3 separate regions of the Homo sapiens genome follow, and all the other regions are linked to region 3. Evidence: promoter capture Hi-C in 16 types of primary human blood cells and fetal thymus (Javierre and others, 2016). All regions are on one chromosome and are shown on one strand. Each heading gives the region's core, a stretch centred on a gene start or on the middle of the fragment in contact. The rest is flanking DNA. Distances are from core to core; before and after follow the strand shown.

Region 1 (2,700 bases), core at 66-2,565, 270 kb before region 3:
GGTATGTGAGGATGAAATGATTATTTTGTGAGAAGTGCTACGAACTGCTAAGAAGTCCTGGCATAGTAAGTGTTGTGAAATATACAGGACAGGAGTGTGGAGCTGAATGCCAGGGGATAGGGGCTCTAACAAGTGGTGGAGTCGACAAGCTGTGTGACCTTGGAACAGCCGTTTAACCCCTTAGAATCTCAGTTTCTCTTTGTAATATTTACACAAAGTCGTTGTGAGAATTAAGTGAGGTAAGGATGTGAACTATCGAGCACAGAGTTTGTCCCACATAAGACAATTTGGATAAATATTGCAACTGTAGTAAAAGGTCTTACCGAGGATTTACCTTGTCTTTTGCACAAGAGATTAAGTCACTGTGGTGAAACTGAAGAGGAAGCTTTGTCCTTTTTGGATGTGGGTGGGAAGGAGAGAAGATGAGGTACGCGTCGGGATGGAGTGGGGAGGGGAGGATGAGGGGGGAAGGGAACAAAGGGGAGCTGTAGGAATTTATTCAAAGGAAAAGACATCATTATATTGAAGGGCCATCTGAACCCCTGTGTTTATTGCAGCACTATTCACAATAGCCAAGACCTGCAATCAACCTAGGTGTCCAACAACAGATGAGCAGATAAAGAAAATGTGATATATATATATATATATATATATACACACACACACAATGGACTATTAATCAGCCATAAAAAGAATGAAATCCTGTCATTTGTGGCACCATGGAGGGAACTGGAGGACACTATGTTAAGTGAAATAAGCTAGGAACAGAAAGTTAAACACTATATATTCTCACTTATATGTGAAAGCTAGAAAAAGTTGATCTTATAGAAATGAAAAGTAGAATAGAGGATACTAGAGGCCGGGAAGAGTTGGGGGAAGAGGGGGCTAGGGAGAGATTTGTTAAAGGACACAAAATTATGGCTAGATGGGAGGAGTGAGTTCTAGTGTTCTATACCACTGTAGGATGACTGTAGTTAACAATAACATATATATAGTTTCAATTAGCTAGAAGCAGGGATATTGAACAGGAGGAGAACCAGTGGATTTCAAAGGCTGAAAAGAAAGATCTGCTTGCTTTCTAGGGGTTGGAGGCACAGGGATGTGGATTACGGGGAATTGAAATAGTCAGAGAGTTCTTGCTATGTAAAACAATTCTGACAGACAATCCCTGGAATCCTGACACCTGGAGGAGGGAGGGAGGGAGTATCACCTAAGAACTGCTGTCCTAGAACCCTTGCTGGGGAGAGGGGTGCACAGCCTTCGCTGAGCTGGACATTAAAGTTGACCATCCTCCCTCAGAAGACCAAAGGTATAAGGCCAGCACAGTGTGGAGGGAACATCTCAGGCTGTGGGCAGTCAGAGTTCAGCAGCCATGTTGGTGGCAGCAAGGAACCAGGCAGGAGTGGATTGTTCAGAGACCAGTGCTCTCCTTGCCGAATATGAGAGGCAGGCTGGCCATTAATATGGGGCTGAGGTTATTAGGAAAATACTGGACTTATTGCTTTATGGTAGGTGGGTGACTGAGGTGGTTTTATTTTATTTTATATATATATATATACACATACATACATATATATACATATATATGTATGTATATATATGTATATATATGTATGTATGTGTATAGAGAGAGAGAGAGATTGAGTGATGGATGCATGCTAGCTGTGGCCTGAATTAATGGAGCAAGTCTTTGTTCTGTGTCCTATTGGTAAAGATAGGAGAATTCTTTAGTGCTCTAGGGTTGTCTGTTCTCACTGGGGCCTTTGGTCAGGAAAGGCGGCCATTCCATGACAAGAAACCCAGGAGCAGGACCTGTGCCCCTCCTCACACAGGATACCTACAACAGGCATTTGTAATGACTTAGAAATTCATGCACTACTTTTCTCATTTAATTCTTATAATAACCCTGCAAATAGGCATTTGTCTGCATTTTAGAGATGAGAAAATTGAAGCCTAGAGAGGTGCAGTCATTTGCCCCGGTCTCATGATGGAGGTGGTGCTCAAGCACAGGCCAATTTCAAATTCTGCTTTGCTTCCCATATCCCATTCTCCCCCATGAGACTTCACAGTGCGTGTGTGAAGTGCTCCGGATGTTGGGATTGAATACAATGGCAGTTCTATTGCACACATTTTTCTTTCTTGCCGGGAGTCTAGGCTTCTTTAAGTGCATAAATAATACATAAATTAGTATGTTGAGCTGATTCCCACACTTTTTCAACAGACCTTCAGTTCTTCCTGAGATCGATAAAGCTTAAAAGAAAAGAAAAAGCCAACTCAGCTTGTGCGTGGATCCTGGACCTTGCTCTAATACAGACCCCGCTCCTGGAGTGTAAGCCATGCTTGACGGCTCAGCTTTCTTGTCACTAATGAGGTGGGATGTGGTTGTGCATTCAAAATCTAGCAAGGACGAAGTGAGTGCACCACTGATTAAACATGGAGAGAAATTTCTTTCCAAAGGGCTGTGTAAGAGGAGAAGCAGGAGATGTATGTAAGATTTCTCATTTGTGCAATGCATCCTCTGAACCACTGTGATGCCACGGGCTGCTGAACTTTCCACAGGGGCCATTAGGGACGAAATCACACCGATGGAATGAAAGGGAAAATAACCAAAGACAACAGCAACAGCTCAAAACACCAGAAAAAGCAGCAACACTATATCTATCCGTCACTGGCCCAACTCGACATCTGGAAAAGAACCCA
Region 2 (2,700 bases), core at 75-2,574, 390 kb before region 3:
CTACTGCTTCTATGAATACAGAACTCTACAGGCTGTCATTAATTGCCAAAGCTTTCTGTGAGGCTCTTTTTGTTAGGTAAAAGTAGGATGCAGATGCAGGGTACAGTCACATACACACACCATTACTGACCTCAGAAGGCTTACAGTCTCATAAAAAAACTGATCGTAAATCAACCTGTAGCTATTCATTAGAAAAAGTCCTTTAGGGCTTAGTCCATTTGGACTGTTATAACAAAATACCTTAGATAGGTAACTTATAAACAACAGAAATTCATTGTTCACAGTTCTGGAGGCTGGGAAGCCCAAGATCAAGGCAGCAGCATTGATGTCTGGTGAGGGCCTGCTTCCTCATAGATGGCACTTTCTATGAGTCTTCACATGGCAGAAGGGGCTAATAAGCTTCTTCAGGCCTCTTTTATTATATAAAAGCACTAATCCCATTCATGAGGGCTTTACCCTCAAGACCTAATTATTTCCTAAAGGTCCCGCCTCTTAATCCTATTGCATTGGGGATTAGGTTTCAATATATGAATTTTGGGGAGATGCAAACTTTCAGACCATAGCGTGTAGTGATGGGAAGAAGACATGGTTTACATAATATGGATGGGGGGCCTCTCTGAGGATATGACATTAAACTGAGACTTGAAGGATGGCAGTGAATCAGCCATGGGAAAGATAAGGAGAATGTTCCAGGTAGAGTTAACAGCAAATACTAAGGCCCCAAGGCAGGAAAGAGCTTACCACTTTCCAGGGACTAAAGGAGCAAAGAGGGGGAGATGACAGAAGATGAGATTAAAGATGTAGGCAGGGGCCACATCTTTACTCTTTAATTGCCTAATGGGCAATGAATAGCTTCCAAACTTTTTTGCTGCAACCCTACAGCTAAGAAATACCTTTGACACACTACCTGGTCCATAGACGCATATATACACAACTGGACAGTAGATGGGAAGATAGTGAGTCGTCGTTAGATTTTTTGGTTGCCTTTTGGAGGTAGCATCTCCGGATCTCAAGGATTGTGCATGGGAAGGTGAAAGGATTCCAGATGATGCTCAGCAACTGGGCTTGAGTAGTTGTGTTGAAGGTGGTGCCAATAAATGACATGACAGCCTGGAGGAGGAAAAGGATTTTGTTGGGGAGGGTGTGGCTGAAAATAAACAGTTCCGTATTTGACATACTATGTTTTAAGATACCTGGATAGTAGTAGGAAAGCAAACTAACTGGCTGTTTTCTTCTACTATACTCTCAACACTCAACACAGCAAACTTCACATTAGGTCACAAAAATGTGTCAGGGGATTTCCGCAACAACCAATTCTCCAGCAGACACCAACTGGGTGTCCTGAATTCAGTTCAATTCTGATACTCTAACCTAGAGTCAGATCCCACAGGTTAGGGCTCAGTCCCACAAGACAACCTCCTATTTCCGATGCCAGTTGAAAATCCCAGATTGTGACTCGTGCTTCTAATGACTGGGTACAAATTGGGAGTTCCCATGACCCCCTCCTCAGATTCAATCATTTGTTAGAGCAGCTCACAGAACTCAGGAAAGTGTTTCATTTATGTTTCCTGGCTTATTATAGAATACATCACAAAAGATACAGATGAATGGCCGGGTGGAAGAGATGGCGTGGTGGCACACATCTGTAACCCCAGCACTTTGGGAGGCTGAGGCAGGAGGATCATTTGAGGCCAGAAGTTTAAGACCAGTCTGGGCAACATAGCAAGACCCTGTTTCTATTTAAAAAATAATAAAAAGTTAAAAAATGTGTAAAATATGTATAAAGGAAGAGATGCATAAGACAAGATATGAGTAAGGTGTCTTGGAGCTTCCATGCCCTCTCTGGGTGTACTAGCAACCTGGAAGCTCTCTGAATTCTATTCTTATGGTTGCTATGAAGGCTTCATTATGTAGGCATGAGTGATTAAATCACTGGCCATTGGAGATCAACTCAACCTACAGTCTCTCTCCCCTTCCTGAAGGAGGGTGGTGTGGGGGTGCTGAAAGTTCTAACCCTCTAATCACATGGTTGTTTCTCCTGGCATCTTGAGGCTCTCCATTAGTCCCCAGCCAGGGATCATCTCGCTAGCATACAAAAGGGTACTTATAACTTGGGAAATTCCAAAGGTTTTAGGAGTTCTGTGCCCTGAAACTGGAAGAAGACCAAAATATGTTATTTCTTCTTATAAATCACAATATCACAGTTACTGAAGTCAAAACCACAGAGATTATCACTTAAATAAAAGGAAGCAAGCTTCTTTTGCTTCTGTCTTGCTGCATAGCTCTGAAACCCAGTCCTGCCTTTTGTAAGAGTGAGTGAGCATGTGTGTGCACGTGTGCTGTGCTGAAGGGCTTTTCTGAGGTAAAGCGAAGTTCATGAGCCGAGACTGAGCTGAGCTGTCCAAATTGGTTTCAGCTGATGGCCTTTGTTAGTGGAGTTTGAATTCCTGCTATCTGTCTTGTTATTTTTTTCATTTTCTTTCCAAATTCATTTCTGGAGCTTGGGGCCTCAAAAATAACAAGTTGTTAAAATGACTGAGTATGCTGTCTGGCTCCACCGAGCCCAACCTCCCCCACTATGTGTCCTAAGCAGGACTGTGAGTCCTCATTTTCCAGATCAAGCTCAATGGAGCAGTGGCGGGGAACCAGGTCTGTTGATCCTCGCTCAGCTGGGGGAGGAGGGTGAGGCAGGTGGGGAGG
Region 3 (2,700 bases), core at 135-2,634:
ATGCTCAAGGACCTGCTACTGTTTTTCTGTAACTCTTTCCTCTTCTCCCTCACACATTTTTCCTGTATCACTTATCACAGCTTCTAAAATGGATAAGGGAGCTATATTATGCAGTATCAATCTCTCGCTTGACCATAAGCTGCTCAAGGGCAGGGGACCTGACTTATTAATCTTTGTATCCCCTGCACCTGGCACACATCTCCATCAACGTACATGGAACTGAGGCGGTTGAATTTACATCCCAGGTCACTGTGCCAGAGCTCAGAATGGGACTAGAGCTGAAGGCAAGAGAGGAATCATTTATTTCCCACTGCTGAGCTGAGTGCTGGCTTCCAAGGAAATTCCAGTCACCGGACAGGCAGCATCCTCCAGCCCCAGGGAAGGACTTAAGGGTACTCTATTGGTACCTTTAGTGAAAGTTCTTTCTCCTAGTTCTTAGAGGTAAGGAAAATGAAGCAACCTGTCCTGTATCCTGTTGGTTTACAACCCAGGGCTAGGAGAATGTACATTGGAAAGTGAATCCTTTTCATCCTCTGCTTAGCTGATCATACCGAGACAGACAATTTGAGTAGGACTACAGAGCTTGGTCCTAATTAAATACAAGGACATACTTTTTTATCTTCCTCCCTATCAAAAGGTTCAAGTCTCAGACTTAACTTTTTAGTTTACAAACAGAAATAAAGACAGGAAATAGTCTTTTAAAAACGCTCCGTGTATCCAAGCCAGGCACTTTGCTGATGCATTATATATATTTGCTCTAAGCCTGCCAAGACCAGTAGTAATGTAGCCATTTACAGTTGAGGAAACTGAGGCCCAAAGAGCTTAAACGGAAAAGCAGAGATTAGAGGTCACTCCCCTTTGGGTCCGCTCACTATACCACGAAGTTTCTGTCCTTTTCCTCCAACACGCTGGTGAGTCCGTGTGCGTGGGTGACTGTGTGTGTGTGGTTCCTTTTTTCCCTATAGAGCCCTCCTTCTTGTCCGTTTTCTTGATTCCACTTTTTGGAGACAAAGTCCAGTTCTTCTCCAAGGTCTCACCATCCGCTCGCCGTCTCCCTCTGACGTCCCAAGGACGGTCAGCCACTCCCCCGCTAAGTTCGGAGTCTCAGCCCTTGGCTCCGATTCTGGGCTCCGCCCCCACCCTCCGGGGACCCCCGCCTGGTCCCTGTCCCCTGCGCCCAGGCGCTCCAGCGGGACCACGGCCCGCGCCCGGGCCCCGCCTCCCCTACCTGAGGCCCTCATGGCCGGAGGCGTCGCAGCCTCCGCCCACCAGCGCGCCTGCCCTGCCATTGGCTCTGCGGGCTGCCCGTCTCCTTGCTCCGTCCCGGAGGCAGGTTTTGCAAGGAGAAGCCGCAGTACCCGCGGCTCGGGTGCAGCGCGGGAGCACAGTGGAGCGCAGATCGCGGACCCGAGCGGGCATGTCCCCGCGCGCGGGAGCCTCCGTTTGCGGCCGGGCCCGGGCGGCTGTGAACTTAGCAGCGGGCTCCTGCGGCCCCGTCACTGCCATGTAGTCGCTGGCGGGGCTCCCTGCAGCCCGGGAGCGGCAGTGCCAGTGAGCCTGAGCCCAGGAGCCCGCGTCTTCCCCGGGAGGCGCTGAGTGCGCGCCGCGCCCCCGCCGCTCGGGAGGCACTTTGGGCCAGACAGGGAAATGGGGGAGAAAGTTTCGGAGGCGCCAGAGCCGGTGCCCCGCGGCTGCAGTGGCCACGGCAGCCGGACTCCAGCCTCTGCGCTGGTCGCCGCGTCCTCTCCGGGTGCTTCCTCGGCCGAGTCCTCCTCGGGCTCAGAAACTCTGTCGGAGGAAGGGGAGCCCGGCGGCTTCTCCAGAGAGCATCAGCCGCCGCCGCCGCCGCCGTTGGGAGGCACCCTGGGCGCCCGGGCGCCCGCCGCGTGGGCTCCGGCAAGCGTGCTGCTGGAGCGCGGAGTCCTTGCGCTGCCGCCGCCGCTTCCCGGAGGAGCTGTGCCGCCCGCGCCCCGGGGCAGCAGCGCGTCCCAGGAGGAGCAGGACGAGGAGGTGGGCCTTTCCCCAGCTTGCCCACTCTGGGTTCCGGCAGCCGGGCGACCGTAGTTTCCCATCCTGCGCACAGGCAGTGGGCAGGAGAGCGCTGTGGCCTGGAGATAGGGAGGGACCCCAAGCGCTCTGCCCCGAGCACGGGACAACGATAGTTAGGAGCCCCCCTGTGGGTTATTGACTTCCCTGTGGCTGTTACCCCCGTGTGTGTGTCTCAGTGTGCTGCCTGATGGTGTGTTTTTAAAATGTCAGAGAAGCAAACTCCTTCGTGTTTGTATCTGACTTGGTTGATCTGTGAAAGGATGCGATCTGGACATCTGGCGTGTCCCCACAACTCACCTCTGATTCTCCAAAGTGGGCGTTGTTTCCCACCGAAGCGCTTGGGCCGAGGGGCAGGGAGTTGAGGGGGAGAAATGGTGCCTTGGGGGTAAGAGGCAGGAGTAGGGTGGGGGGCAGCGGTAGCCGCGGAGTTGCCTGCGGAGGTTTCAGTGGCGCCAGCCCCCTGGGATCGCCCGCGGGTGGTTTTGGCGCGTCCCCGCAGCGTCGGTCCTCTGGGAGAAGAGGACTCCCCGCGCTCCCTCGGTGGCGCTGGCGTGCGCGCCTGCAGCTCCCGTTCAGACTTGTTTCCAGCTTGTCCAGATGAACGCTTGTCACCAAACCGAGTACAGATCGTCTTACCTTTTGCGGGGCGGA

The links. Contacts are between HindIII fragments. The CHiCAGO score rates a contact against its expected background, and 5 or more counts as called.
Region 1: a contact is called between a fragment that was not itself captured here and the fragment with the promoter of MAST4 in region 3, in 7 of 17 cell types (endothelial precursors, M2 macrophages, M1 macrophages and 4 more). The highest score is 7.1, in endothelial precursors.
Region 2: a fragment that was not itself captured here is called in contact with the fragment with the promoter of MAST4 in region 3 in 1 of 17 cell types (M1 macrophages); the score reaches 5.0 in M1 macrophages.

The regions. Positions count from the first base shown.
Region 1 is chr5:66,320,612-66,323,311 of GRCh38, forward strand. It overlaps LOC124900988 (a long non-coding RNA gene), which reads left to right. Exons shown (of 3, transcript XR_007058792.1): 3 at 2,222-2,700. Among named protein-coding and RNA genes, the nearest start is that of LINC02065, 110 kb to the left of the region's middle. The HindIII fragment of the contact is 1,865 bases long and covers 384-2,248 here.
Region 2 is chr5:66,205,544-66,208,243 of GRCh38, forward strand. LINC02065 (long intergenic non-protein coding RNA 2065) reads right to left here. Exons shown (of 2, transcript NR_146488.1): 2 at 1-1,110. The region is part of intron 3 of LOC401191 (a long non-coding RNA gene); the gene reads left to right. Among named protein-coding and RNA genes, the nearest start is that of LINC02065, 2.6 kb to the right of the region's middle. The HindIII fragment of the contact is 1,855 bases long and covers 398-2,252 here.
Region 3 is chr5:66,595,009-66,597,708 of GRCh38, forward strand. It overlaps MAST4 (microtubule associated serine/threonine kinase family member 4), which reads left to right and starts at 1,385. Exons shown (of 29, transcript NM_001164664.2): 1 at 1,385-2,010. The coding sequence starts at 1,648. RefSeq lists silencers at 1,021-1,220, 1,831-1,970, 1,981-2,130. The HindIII fragment of the contact is 7,618 bases long and covers 1-2,700 here.